Linked DNA regions of Homo sapiens: all the other regions are linked to region 4. The links are contacts of gene promoters, found by promoter capture Hi-C in blood cells and fetal thymus (Javierre and others, 2016). All regions are on one chromosome and are shown on one strand. Each heading gives the region's core, a stretch centred on a gene start or on the middle of the fragment in contact. The rest is flanking DNA. Distances are from core to core; before and after follow the strand shown.

Evidence for each region. Contacts are between HindIII fragments. The CHiCAGO score rates a contact against its expected background, and 5 or more counts as called.
Region 1: a contact is called between a fragment that was not itself captured here and the fragment with the promoter of ST6GAL1 in region 4, in 1 of 17 cell types (non-activated CD4 T cells). The highest score is 6.1, in non-activated CD4 T cells.
Region 2: a contact is called between a fragment that was not itself captured here and the fragment with the promoter of ST6GAL1 in region 4, in 1 of 17 cell types (non-activated CD4 T cells). The highest score is 5.3, in non-activated CD4 T cells.
Region 3: a fragment that was not itself captured here is called in contact with the fragment with the promoter of ST6GAL1 in region 4 in 8 of 17 cell types (non-activated CD4 T cells, total CD4 T cells, naive CD4 T cells and 5 more); the score reaches 7.7 in non-activated CD4 T cells.

What each region holds. Positions count from the first base shown.
Region 1 is chr3:187,085,274-187,088,434 of GRCh38, reverse strand. No RefSeq gene overlaps it. Among named protein-coding and RNA genes, the nearest start is that of RPL39L, 53 kb to the left of the region's middle. The HindIII fragment of the contact is 5,150 bases long and covers 1-3,161 here.
Region 2 is chr3:187,142,020-187,145,459 of GRCh38, reverse strand. No RefSeq gene overlaps it. Among named protein-coding and RNA genes, the nearest start is that of RPL39L, 4.2 kb to the right of the region's middle. The HindIII fragment of the contact is 3,288 bases long and covers 437-3,440 here.
Region 3 is chr3:187,168,895-187,172,380 of GRCh38, reverse strand. No RefSeq gene overlaps it. Among named protein-coding and RNA genes, the nearest start is that of RTP1, 27 kb to the left of the region's middle. RefSeq lists an enhancer at 1,037-1,538. The HindIII fragment of the contact is 1,735 bases long and covers 891-2,625 here.
Region 4 is chr3:186,928,650-186,931,898 of GRCh38, reverse strand. It overlaps ST6GAL1 (ST6 beta-galactoside alpha-2,6-sialyltransferase 1), which reads right to left and starts at 1,373. Exons shown (of 8, transcript NM_173216.2): 1 at 1,065-1,373. RefSeq lists silencers at 953-1,142, 1,383-1,462 and an enhancer at 1,150-1,758. The HindIII fragment of the contact is 4,226 bases long and covers 1-3,249 here.

The sequences.
Region 1 (3,161 bases), core at 609-3,108, 160 kb before region 4:
ACAGAAAGATAAATACCACATGATCTCACTTATATGTGAAATCTTAAGAATGCTGAATTCACAAAAGTAGAAAATAGAAGGATGGTTACCAGATACTGGAGTCAGGGGAGTGAGAGAATGGGGAGTTACTACTGGTCAAAGGGTATGAAGTTTCAGCTAGACGGCAGGAACAAGATTTGAGATCTATTGGACACCAGGCTGGCTATATTCAATAATATGTTGTATATTTCAAAATAACTAAGAAAGTAAATTTCAAATGTATTGCCACAAAAAATGTCAAATAATTGAGGTGGTGAATATGTTAATTAGCTTGACTTAATCACTCCACATGTATGTGTATGTGTATACATCATATTGTATTCCATACATGTAATACAATTATGATTTGTCAATTAAAAATAATATAAGTAAAAGTAAATTTTTAAAAAGACACATTACGGTAGCCGCACGTGGTGGCGGGTGCCTGTGGTCCCAGCTACTCGGGAGGCTGAGGCAGGAGAATCACCTGAACCCGGGAGGCGGAGGTTGCAGTGAGGTGAGATCGTGCCACTGCACTCCAGCCTGGCGAAAGAGCGAGACTCCGTCTCAAAAAAAAAAAAAAAAAAAGACACATTACATACAGAGGAACAAAGAAAAGGATGGCAGCAGATTTTTCACCAGAAACAATGCAAGAAGAAACTGTCTTTTTTTGCAGATGAAATGACTACCTATTTAAAAAAAAAAAAGAAAAAACCAAAGAATTTACAAAAAAAGCCCCTAGAACTAAATTTAGCAAGATCACTAAACACAAAATCAAGATACAAAAGTCAACTGTATGTCTATATACTAGCTACAAACATTCAGACATTGAAATTAAAAACAAACATTTACAGCAGCATCAAAAATATGAAATACTTAGGGGGATAAATCTGACAAAAGATGTGCAAGACTCATAAACTAGAATCTACAAAGCATTTCTGAGAGAAATTAAAGAAAACCTAAATAAGTGCAGAAATATACTGCACTCACGAACTAGAAGACTTACTATTGTTAAGATGTCAATTTTTCCTGAATTGATCCATAGATTTAATGCAATCTCAGTCAAAATCTAGCAGGCTTTTTTTTGTAGATGCTGGCAAGCTATTTCTAAAACTTACGTGGAAATGTAAAAGGACCAAAGATACCCTCACCCTCCCAATTTTTGTTGTTGTTGTTGTTCTTTGATACAGGGTTTTGCTATGTTGCTCAAGATATCCTTGAACTTCCTGGGCTCAAGTGATCCTCCTGCCTCAGCCTCCCAAGTACCTGGAGCTACAGGCATGTACTACCGTGCCCGGCTATACCCCCCACCAAAAAAAATTTAAAGAAATTTAAAGCTACAATAATCATAACAGTGTGTAACTAGCATCCAGATAGGCAAATAGACCAATGGAACAGAGCAAAGTCCAGAAGTAAATCCACACATATACGGTCAATTGATTTTTTTTTTTTTTTTTTTTTTTTTTACAAAAGTGCAAAAGCTATTCAGTGGAGGCAGCATATTCTTTTCAACATGTTGTACTGGAACAATTGAATATCCATGTGCAAAAACCCCAACTTTCTTCCATACATTGCACCAATACAAAAAAAATTAGGATCATAGACCTAAATGTAACTAAAACTGTAACACTTTTAAAAGAAATCTTTATAACCTTGGGGTTAGGCCAAAACATCTTAGTTATGACACCAAAAACATGATCAATAGAAGATAAATTGGACTTCATCAAAATTTAAAATTTGTTTTTTAGAGGCATTTTTAAGAGAATGAAAAAAACAGACCACAGATTGAGAGAAAATGTTTACAAATCACAAGTCCTGATAAAAGACTTGTATCTAGAATATATAAATATAATATATAAATAATTTATATAAATTTATACATAAATATATAAATTCTTAAAAACTCAATAATATAACAATAAACAATCATTGTCCATTAAGAGATGGACAAATTATTTGAAAAGATTCTTCATCAAAGAAAATGGATAGGAAATAAGCACATGAAAAGATGATGAACATTATATGCCATTAGGGAAATGCAAATTAAAACCAAAATAAGATAACACACCGATTATGATGTCTAAAATTAAAAAGACTTAAACTAAGGTTAGCCATAATGTGGCAGAATTAAAATTTTTATGCACTGCCGGTGGAAATTTAAAATAGTACAACCACTTTAGGAAACAATATGGCAGTTTCTTTAAAAATTAACTAAATGCCTATAATATGACTCAACCATTTCACTCCTACAAGTCACCCAGCAGAAATAAAAGACTTGTATACAAATGGTCATAGCAACTTTATTTATAATATCCCCAAACTAGAAAACAATCCAAATGTTCAACAACAAAGATAACTGTTATACAAATATGGTATATCCACAAAGTGGAATACTACTCAGCAATAAGAGGAATAAGCTATTAATATACACTACAGTATGGATGAATCTCAAAACATTATGCTGAGTAAAAGAAGCTGGACAAAAAAAAAAAAAAAGAGTATGTGGGCCGGCACAATGGCTCATGCCTGAAATCCTAGCACTTTGAGAGGCCGAGGCAGGTGGATTGCTTCAGCTCAGGAGTTCAGGACCAGCCTGGGCAACATAATGAGACCCTTGTCTCTACAAAAAATACAAAAAGTATCCGGGCATAGTGGTGTGCACCTGTCATCCAGCCTGGGCAACATAATGAGACCCTTGTCTCTACAAAAAATACAAAAAGTATCCGGGCAGAGTGGTGTGCACCTGTCATCCCAGCTACTCAGGAGGCTGAGGTGGGAGGATTTCTTGAGCCCAGGAGGTGGAGGTTGCAGCGAACTGAGATTGCACCACTGCACTCCATCCTGAGCAACAGAGCCGGATCCTGTCTGAAAAAAAAAAAAAAAAAAAGTCTGTGATTTAAGTGATGGATTTGTAATGTTGTACTTGGCCAGTCTAAACTGTCCAAGAATTCTACTTCCTGTATGTTTCCTATCAGAGTTAGCAACAAGGGACTTTAGACGGTGGGAAAAAGGCAGCAGCTACTTTGAAGCAGCATCTGGGCCTACAGTTGCTCTACTACCTACCCTTGGATTCACCAGTTTTTCTGACTTTGGGACCATGTATGTGTTTAGTTCTGTGACAAAGCGCCCTGGCTTCTGCAGGA
Region 2 (3,440 bases), core at 831-3,330, 210 kb before region 4:
CAGAAGACAAGAGTTGAGGCTGCCAAGTTGAAATCTTGGCAGCCTCTGCCTAGATTTCAGAGGATGTATGGAAACACCTGCATGTCCAGGCAGAAGCCTGCTTCAGGGGTGGAGCCCTCATGGAGAACCTCTACTAGGGCAATGCAGAGGGGAAATGTGGGGTTGGAGCCCCCACACAGAGTCCCCACTGGTGCACTGCCTAGTGCAGCTGTGAGAAGAGGGCCACCTCAGACCCCAGAATGATAGAGCCATCCACAGCTTGCACCTTGTGCCCGGAATAGCTGCAGACACTTAACACCAGCCCGTGAAAGCAGCCATGGGGGCTGTATCCTGCAGTGTCACAGAGGTGGAGCTGCCAAAGGCCTCGGGAGCCTATATTTTGCATCAGCATGACCTGGATGGGAAATATGGAGTTAAAGGAGATCATCATGAAGCTTTAAGATTTAATGACTGCCCTGTTTGGATTTTGGACTTGCATGGGGCCTGTAGCCCCTTTGTTTTGGACGATTTCTCCCATTTGGAATGGGAACATTTATCAAATACCTGTACCCCCATGTACCTTGGAAGTACTAACTTGCTTTTGATTTTACAGGCTTATTGGTGGAAGGGAGTTGCCTTGTCTCAGATGAGAGTTTGGACTTGGACTTTTGAGTTAATGATTGAATGAGTTAAGAATTTGGGGAACTGTTGGGAAGGCATGACTGGTTTTGAAATATGAAAAGAACATGAAATTTGGGAGGGGCCAGGGTGGAATGATATGGTCTGGGTCTGTGTCCCCACCCAAATCTCATCTTGAATTGTAATCCCCACACGTTGAGGGAGGGACCTGGTGGGAGGTGATTGGATCATGGGGGCAGTTTCCTCTACGCTGTTCTCATGATAGTGAGTGATTTCTCATGGGGGTGGTTTCTCCAATGCTGTTCTCATGATAGTAAGTGTTTTTACCTGAGATCTGGTTGTTTGATAAGTCTGGCAATTTCCCTGAGCTCTCTCTCTCTTGCCTGTCTTCACCTTGTGAAGAAGGTACTTGCTTTCCCTTTGCCCTCTGCTATGATTGTAAGTTTCCTGAGGCCTCCTCAGCCATGTGGAACTGTGAGTCAGTTAAACCTCCTTTCTTTATAAATTACCCAGTCTCAGGTAGTATCTTTATAGCAGTGTGAGAATAGACTAATAAAGCAGGCAAAAAAGTACTCATACCTTATATAACAATTAACTAAAAATGGATCACAGACTTAAATGTAAAATATCAAACTATAATACTTTTAGGAAAAAAAGAGAAAATCTTTAAGAGCTAGAGCTAGACAAAGAGTCTTAACACTAAAAACATCACTCGTAAGAGAAAAGTTGATAAATGTAACTTCACCCGTTAAAAACTTTTGCTCTGTGACAGACCCTGTTAAGAGAATGAAAAGACAAGCTACAGAATGGGAGAAAATATCTGTAAAACACATATCTGACAAAGGCCTAGCATTTTGAATATATAAAGAGCTCTCAAAATTCAATAGTAAAAGGAAACAAACATGGTAATGAAAAGAGATTTTACTGAAGAGGATACACAAGATTGCAAATTGGCAAATGAAAAAAGATGTTCTATATCATTAGCCATTAGGGAAATGCAAATTAAAACTACAATGATATATTGATATATACCTAGCAAGATTACTAAAACAAAGAAGTGACAACATCAAATTCTGGTGAGGATGCAAAGAATCACTCATAGTTTACTAGTGGGAAAAAAATGATATGGCCATTCTGGAAATCAGTTTGTCAGATTCTGAAAAATTAAGCATGCAACTACCATATGGCTTAGGAATTACACTTCTGGGCATTTGTCTCAAAGAAATAAAGACTCATGTTCACACAAAAACCTAGACACAAATTTTATAGCAACTTTATTCATAATTAGCCCAGATGTTCTTCAACTGATAATGGTTAAATACACTGTGGATATTATGGAATATTATTCAGCAATAAAAAGACACAAACTACTGATACAGGCAATAAACTGGATGAATCTCCAGAGAATTATGCTGAGCAAAAAAAAATGCCAATCCCAAAAGGTTACATGCTATAGTTCTCCTTTATATTGCGATCTTGAAAGGACAAGTTTATAAAAATGGAGAACTAATGGCATATGGGAGGAGTGGAAGCAGGTGGAAAGTTGCTGTGCCTATTAAAGAGCACCATGAGGGATTCTTATGGTGATGGAAGAGTTCTGTATCTTGACTGTAACAATGCCAATATCCTGATAGTAATATTATTGTAGAGTTTTGCAAGATTTTACCTTTTGGAGAAACTGGGCAAAGGGCACAAAGAATCTCTGAACTATTTCTCTTTCTTTCTTTTTTTAGAGACAGGGTCTCACTCTGCCAACCAAGCTGGAGTGCAGTGATGTGATTGTAGCTCACTGCTGCCTCAAATTCCTGGACTCAAGCCACCCTCCCGCCTCAGCCTCCCAAGTAGCTGGATTACAGATGCACACCACCATGCCTGGTTAACTTTCAATTTTTTGTAGATCAGGGTCTTGCTGTATGACCCAGACTGTCTTAAACTCCTGGGCTCAAGAGATCCTCCCACCTTGGCCCCCCAAAGCACTGGGTTTATAAGCATAAGCCACCACACTCAGCCCCTATACTACTTCTTACAACTGCAGGTAAATCTGCAATTATCTCAAAATGAAAAGGGTAAGTTTTAAAAGGCTGATTGCTATACTTTGGACGTTCGTCCCCCAAACTGCATATTGAAATTTGATCCCTAATGTTAGAGGTGGGGCCTGATGGGAAATATTTGGGTCCTGAGGTTTAAGGTGGATCCCTCGTGAATATATTAATGCCCTCTCTGGGGGATGGTGACTTCGCACTCTTAGTGCTTTCGTGATATGGTTTGGCTGTGCCCAACTCAAATCTCATCGTGAATTGTAGTTCCCATAATCCCCATGTTGTGGGAGGGACCCAGTGGGAGATAATTTAATCATGGGGCAGTTAACCCTCATGCTGTTCTTGTTATAGCGATTGAGTTCTCATGAGGTCTGATAGTTTTATATGGGGTTTTTCCCCCTTTTGCTCAGCACTTCTCCTTGCTGCTGCCATGTGAAGAAGAACATGTTTGCTCCCTCTTCCACCATGATTGTAAATTTTGTGTGGCCTCCCCAGCCATGGAGAACTGTGAGTCAACTAAACTGCTTTCCTTTACAAATTACCCAGTCTCCAGTATGTCTCTATTAGCAGTGTAAAAATGGACTAATACACCTTGAGAGCTGATATTTAAAAAGAGCCTCCCTCTCTACTCTCTCTTGCGTCTTTTGCCATGTGATCTCTGCACAAGTTGCTCCCCTTTCCCTTGCACCATGAGTGAAAGCAGTTTGAGGCTCTCACTAGATGTAGATGTGGGCACCATGCTTCTTATACAGCCTGTGGAACATGAGCCAGATAAATCTTTCT
Region 3 (3,486 bases), core at 509-3,008, 240 kb before region 4:
ACTAAAAAACAAAAAAAGGAAAAGAAAAAACCAAGGGGCAGAACTGTATATAAAGATTGCTACCTTTCCTCGAAGGATGAAAGATACATATTTGACTATATTAAAAATAAATGGAAAGATAAGTTAAAAACTAAGGAATATTATTGTTCACTGGGGAGGAGGGAACAGGGTAGAGGAGACACAGGTAGAACACAGATATTTCTAAATGTGCTTTGTTGTGTTGTGTTGTTTTGGGTCCATGTTATTTTTTACATAATTATAAAACAAAAAAATTGAATTTTTAAAAATTCTGAAAACTTGGGGAAAAAATTAACCTAACATTATGAAATCTGTGGCTTACTCAATGGTGAATTATTTCAAATGACTTTAAAACATAATAATTTGACTGTTTCCATATATCTCATGGAGGCTGAAGTGTGGGGATGGGGAGTAATTACAGTGTTATTATTTTTATTTTAATAGGGTAAGTAACACATTGTATTAGTGCTTCTATTAATGTTACTGGGAACCAAGATTTTTATGGTAATCAAAAAGAGATTGGAAATACATAAAATCTAAGATGGTAAATAAAAATTCCTATTATCTGAATTTGAATTGGAAATATAAGTATTATATCATAATGAAATTGTATTGCCCATAAAAATTATGAACTTCCTAACTTTGTCTATTACACAGACCTGAAAGAAATAAATCATCAATCCATTAGCAACAAGTACCTCTCAGCACCTGGATCACCAAAAGTGATCAGAACTTTCTGGAAAAATAATTCCTTCAGATATAAGTCAATAAATGTATAAAATGAGCCTGGAATATTTTCTTGTACCAGATTTCAAAAATTCCTATTGTCATGTCAAAAGACAAAAGGCAAATGAAACTAACCTGAAGAAGCTTTCACTGGCCAAAAACAAAATAATTGGATCATCAAAAAGAATAATGGCCACAATTCATTGAAGTACATCAAATATGCTAAAAATCCATAAATTAATAATGATATTTTAAATAAAAAAAACCAACTATTTATTTCAAAAATAGGCAAGGGAAAAATATTACATATTTATCTTGGCTTCCTTATGTAATCTGCATTTTGTGATAACCAAATAATAGTTGAGGGGAAGCTATTCTTTAGAGAAGAATTACAATTAATAAAAGAAAAGGGGCCGAGGCGCAGTGGTTCACACCTGTAATCTCAGCACTTTGGGAGGCCAAGTAGGGAGATCACTTGAGGTCAGGAGTTTGAGACCAGCCTGTCCAATGTGGTGAAACCCCATCTCTACTAAAAATACAAAAAAATCAGCTGGGCCTGGTGGAGCACACTGGTAATCCCAGCTACTCGCGAAGCTGAGGCATGAGAATTACTTGAACCCAGGTGGTGGGGGTTGCAGTGAGCTGAGATTGCGCCACTGAACTCCAGCCTGGGTGACAGAGCAAGACTCTATCTCAAAAAGTAAATAAATAAAAAATAAAAGGGAACAATAGGATCAGAATATCACTATTTTGCAGTCCTAATGAAATAATGATAAAGAAAAAAATCTAAATCTGCTAAACTCATTAATTAAGATGTTGTGGGGAACTTTATAGTGGATGGGTCAGGCTGACACCATCTGATCTTACTGATCAATTAAGAAAAGAAAGGCAATCAGACATCACGTGTCTCCTAATATAACGCTGCAGGAACAGTCCAACACTAGCACTGAAATAGTCACATTAAAAAATCCAAATCTGGCTGGGTGCGGTGGCTCACGCCTATAATCCCAGCACTTTGAGAAGCCAAAGTGGGTGTATCACGAGGTCAGAAGTTCGAGAACAGCCTGACCAACATGATGAAACCCTGTCTCTACTAAAAATACAAAATTTAGCTGGGCATGGTGGCGCGTGCCTGTAATCCCAGCTACTCAGGAGCCTGAGGCAGGAGAATCGCTTGAACCCGGGAGGCAGAGGTTGCAGTGAGCCTAGATCGTGCCACTGCACTCCAGCCTGGGTGACAGAGTGAGACTTCCAAAAAAAAAAAAAAAAAAAACATACCTGATCAGGCCTGTAGATAGTCTAGAGGAAATACGAAGTATGAGGAAACGTCTCAGACAAAAACCACAAGAATGTATCACCAAAGTCCAAAATGTGAGCAATTCTACAAGATACATGATTTTTTTTCCAAATAAATAAATGGTAAAGAAGAAGAGGGGGAAGGAGGACTGCTATAAAGTTAAAAAGAATTGAGACGCACAACCCGATGTGATATGTGAACTTTCTGACTGAATCAAATCAACTATAAAAAGGCATGTTTGAGATAACACAGACAACTTAATTATGTACTAAATTAGATGATTTTAAGGAATTCTTTTTGAAGAATTATGAGGAATTATGAAGAATGATTATGAAGAATTTCAAGGAGTTGCATTTGGAAATTTGAAATTTAAAAAAAATTTTAATAGTAAAAACAAAAGCAGAAGGTAAAAGGGAATAAAACTGTAAATAAGATGGATCCAGGACTGGATTTGGGGCATAGATGTATACATGTGTTATAGGAGTACCACAAAACAAGCTCTATGTTTGCAGCTACCAATGTGAGAAGGGAGAGAAAAATAGTGAGAAAGTGCTCAGTACCTACTCAGCAAAAACAAACAAGCTTTTCAGGTAGAGCATCATTCTACTGCTAAGTCCTGAGCAAATCCTCTGCCCTGGATCATCACTTAAAACAAATCCAGGACAGCTTCCCTTTTTAATTTGATTGGCCAAATATTTAAATCCTTTACTCCATACCCCAACCACCTGAACTATATAAGACCAAAAGACCCCTCATCATTTAAGAAACATTTGTTGAACTCTACTATATTTCAGTATGTGTGGTAAGAGTAAAGTATTTATTTACAAAGAAGGCAGACTCTGCTGTCAGTGAACTTAGAGTCTATAGTGATTTGCTGGCATTCATACAACCATCACATCATGCCAAGATAGATAGGTCATGAGAGCGAATAACAAAGATCTCTGGAAGCGGAAGGATTCCTCTTCAAATTCTCAGGACAAGTTAAGGTTTCTTACAGAAACACCATAACTGTGTGTTGTTAGCACAAGATGGGTTTTGCTGGGGGTGACATTCCACATAAACCAAAGGCAGAGGTGGTCTGCACATCCTTCTGGGGTGCTTAGTACATGAGCTCCCCCCTTATCCAAGGTTTTGCTATCCATGGTTTCAGTTACTCATGGTCAACCATGGTTTGAAAATAGGTGAACACAGAGCAATAAGATATTTTGAGAAAGAGAGACCACATTTACATAATTTTTATTACAGTATATCTAATCATTGTTCTATTTTATTATTGTTAATTTCTTACTGTGTGTAAGTTTTGTTTGTTTGTTTGTTTGTTTCATTTTTTGAGATGGAGTCTTGCTCTGTCACCCAGGCTGGAGTGCAGTGGCGCGATCTCGGCTCACTGAAACCTCCACCTCCCAGGTTCAAGCGATTCTCCTGCCTCAGCCTCCTGAGTAGAA
Region 4 (3,249 bases), core at 124-2,623:
GAGTTCTCTTTTTCCGGACCTCGGAATTTCTTTCAAATAAACTCAGAACTGAAAATTGTACGTCCCCAGCTAGAATACGAGGTCTCGGCTGGCCTTGCTTGCGAAAATGCATTAACAAGCCAAAAGGGGCTAGTGACATCTGGGGTGTCTGGGCACACGGACACGGGCCTCAGAGGCAAAGAGCAAGACCGCACTGGGCGACTCGTACATTCTTCCCGCAGGCTGAGGAGGCGACCAAAATATCCCCACAGAGGCAATCGCCGGAGTGCGGGGACAATAGTGCACCCAGCACTCTCTTTTTTTGAGGGGCACCCTTAGACCCTTAACCCAACCCACATCTCTAAGAGACCTCCAGGAGGTGAAGGTGAGGGGTGGTCCACTTCACCCAAAAGAATGCGCCACGGCCGGGGACCGACTCAGCCTGGAGTAACCTTTTTGTAGCTGCTTTCTTGTTTTGGTTTCCCTTTTTAAGTCTGGCAGTTTAGTCTGATGCCCAAGCGGTACCTTTTAAATGTCTCTCTCGCCCTCTTCCAGCAAGTGGCGCCTCTAGAGCCACTCCCTCCCCCGAGGCTGAGACAATGGCCCGGCACCGCAGGGCGGCCCCTAAGGGTATGCAGTGCGTCCAGCTCTCCGGGCAGGGCGCACGTGCGTTTGTTATGGTGCCTGTGCCCCCTCCGCTGCCGCGGGCCTCAATTTGTCGATCCGTAAACCCAGACTCTGCAAGGCGCAATGCCCCCACGCCACCCCACCCCATACTGACGGTGCCGTGGAGAAATCCGTGTTCCCCGGGGCTGTGCGCACGTGGGTTTGTTGTGGATCCGCAGGCTCGCGGAGCCAGAGAGAAGCCAGGGTGGCCCTTTGGCCCTGACAAAAATGCACACACCCCCAACCAAAAGGCGGCCAGCCCCGGAGCCAAGGCAGCTGAGGCGGAGCTGGAGAGAGATTCCCTGCGCCCTACGCGCGCCGCGGGCCCCGCGCCTCCGCTATCCTCCCGCGCCCCTTTGCATCACACTCCTCCCGGGATAGCCCGGGCCGCGCCGCCGCCCACCGCACCCCCTACTCACTCGCTGCACTCTCGGCCGCGGAGGCTGCGGTTGCTCAGCACGCTCGGTGGCGGCCGCCCGCTCCGCGCCCACGCCGGTCGGTATCGGCTCCCTTTGTTAACGCCGGGCAGTGCCCCAGGCGTCTTCCCCAGCCCGGCCCTGCCCAGGACTCCCCTCCCCCAGGTGACTCCAGAAAACGCGCTCGGCAAGGGCAGGATCGCCCGGGAGCTGGGGACCCCACTAGGGAGTCTCGAAAGAGGGGTCCGCTGGGGAAGAACGGGGGACAGAAGACGCACAGTGGAAGGGACTGGAGAAGGAAGGAAGAAGAGCGCGGCGGAGGGGCGGGAAGGAAGCGAGTCGCCTCCGTATGCAAATAGAGTTGCGAAGACTGGGTCGGTCTCCGCCCCCACTCCACCTCTCGCCACCGGCCACACCGCGCCCCAAACCGGCCTGGAGGTCGCTAGCGAGCGGGCTTGGGGTTAAAGACTCTTGATGAAGGCACTGGGTGATGCTAGAATCCTGCCTGCTCTCAAGGAGGGTGGATCGAGGGCCGAGTGGGAGGGGCCACGCGGCTGCGCAAGGACCCCTAAATGCCTCTTCCCCGCTTGGCCGCGAGGGGTCAATCCAGCAGTGTCCGGCTTTTGGTCCTAACATGCGGGTGCTGTACACCCGGTCTCTGCTACCGGCTGACTGCGAGACCCTGAGGAAGTCGCTTAACCTCTCCGAAGACTCGTGTTGCTCTTATCTAGAATAGGAAAGAACAAAATCTTTCACTGCGTTTGGCATTAACCTCCTAACATTGAGGCATGACTCCTACTGGGCGCTCTCAAATGGCAAATACAGAAGGAGAGGAGCGTCCTCGAACCCCTGCACCCAGAGGCTTCCACCCCAAGCTGCAGGCTGAAAGACTGAAGCCTCAGCCTGGATGGTGAAGGGAGCGAGGTTCTTTCTTTTCACCCGGACGACGGTGGGGCTGCTGGGGAAGGAAAGAGGATTAACCAAGCTGCGTACTGACCATCCCCGATAGCCCCAAGGCGATTTCCCTAAGAAAGAAAAACTGCCCAACAGGAGGGCGGAAGGGGCCTTTAAGGCCTCCAGTCCAGCCTCCCATAGCCCAAAGAGAGGATGTGACTACCAGAGGCAATAGTCATATCCCAGTTGTCTACTGAGTGCACACTAGGCACCAGGCTGTGTGCTGGGTGGGAAAGGGGAAAGGAAGGAGATACTGGAAGGTTTGGGGGTCCTCTGGGAACACAAAGTCCAGTGCACACTTAAAGTGCCTGAAGCCCAGGCCCAGAGTTCTGTCTCCAAATGAGGTGCCTACCCCACATCACCAACCTTGGAAAGGGAAGTTACATCCGCACCCTGTCCCCAGCACCCTTCTTCCAAACACTGCTTCCTCCCTGTCCTGATCCTGGCTCCCTTCTGCTGATACTGTCATTCCCTTCCCTGCTGCCCCTGAGGCATTTTTGCTCAGTACAAAGAGCTCCAATTGAAGGGAGTGCCAGCCAGAGTGAATTCAAATCTTTATGACCAACTCGCTGTGCCTTCTTGGGTGAGTTCCACATCCTGTGAGCCTCCCTTTCCTCTTCTGCAAAATGGAGATATTAAGGAAAGCGTTGTTTTCAGGATCCTGTGAAATGACCTACGTGAAACACGTAGCTTAGTGTTTGGCATATAGAAGGTGCTCCTGACAGTAAAATGTATGTATGCGTGAATGAATAGAAGCAGCCAAGTTCAGAAGACTATTTCTGGAAGGATGCTACATTGAAGATTTTAGGCCCTATTCGAAAAAGGGAAAAAAAAAAAGGAGGCTATTAAAAGATTCTGTGCAGTAGCATGACATGCATCTTTGTATTTTACAAGGATTCCTCTGGCACCACACTGGAAAATAGATGGCAGAAGCAGAGAATGCAAGAGACTAGATTGGAAGCTGACATCAATGGAGATATAATAAGAGCCTGAACTGTGTCAGTGACTGTAACAAGACAGAAGAAAAGGACATCTAAATAATAGCTACCATTTGGAGATCTGACATGGTTTGGCTCTGTGTCCCCACCCAAAAATCTCATCTTGAATTGTAATCCACATGTGTCAGGGGAGGGACCTCCTGGGAGGTGATTGGATCGTGGGGGGCGGTTTCCCCCATGATGTTTTTGTGATAGGGAGCTCTCACGGGATCTGGTTGTTTGATAAGTGTCTGGCA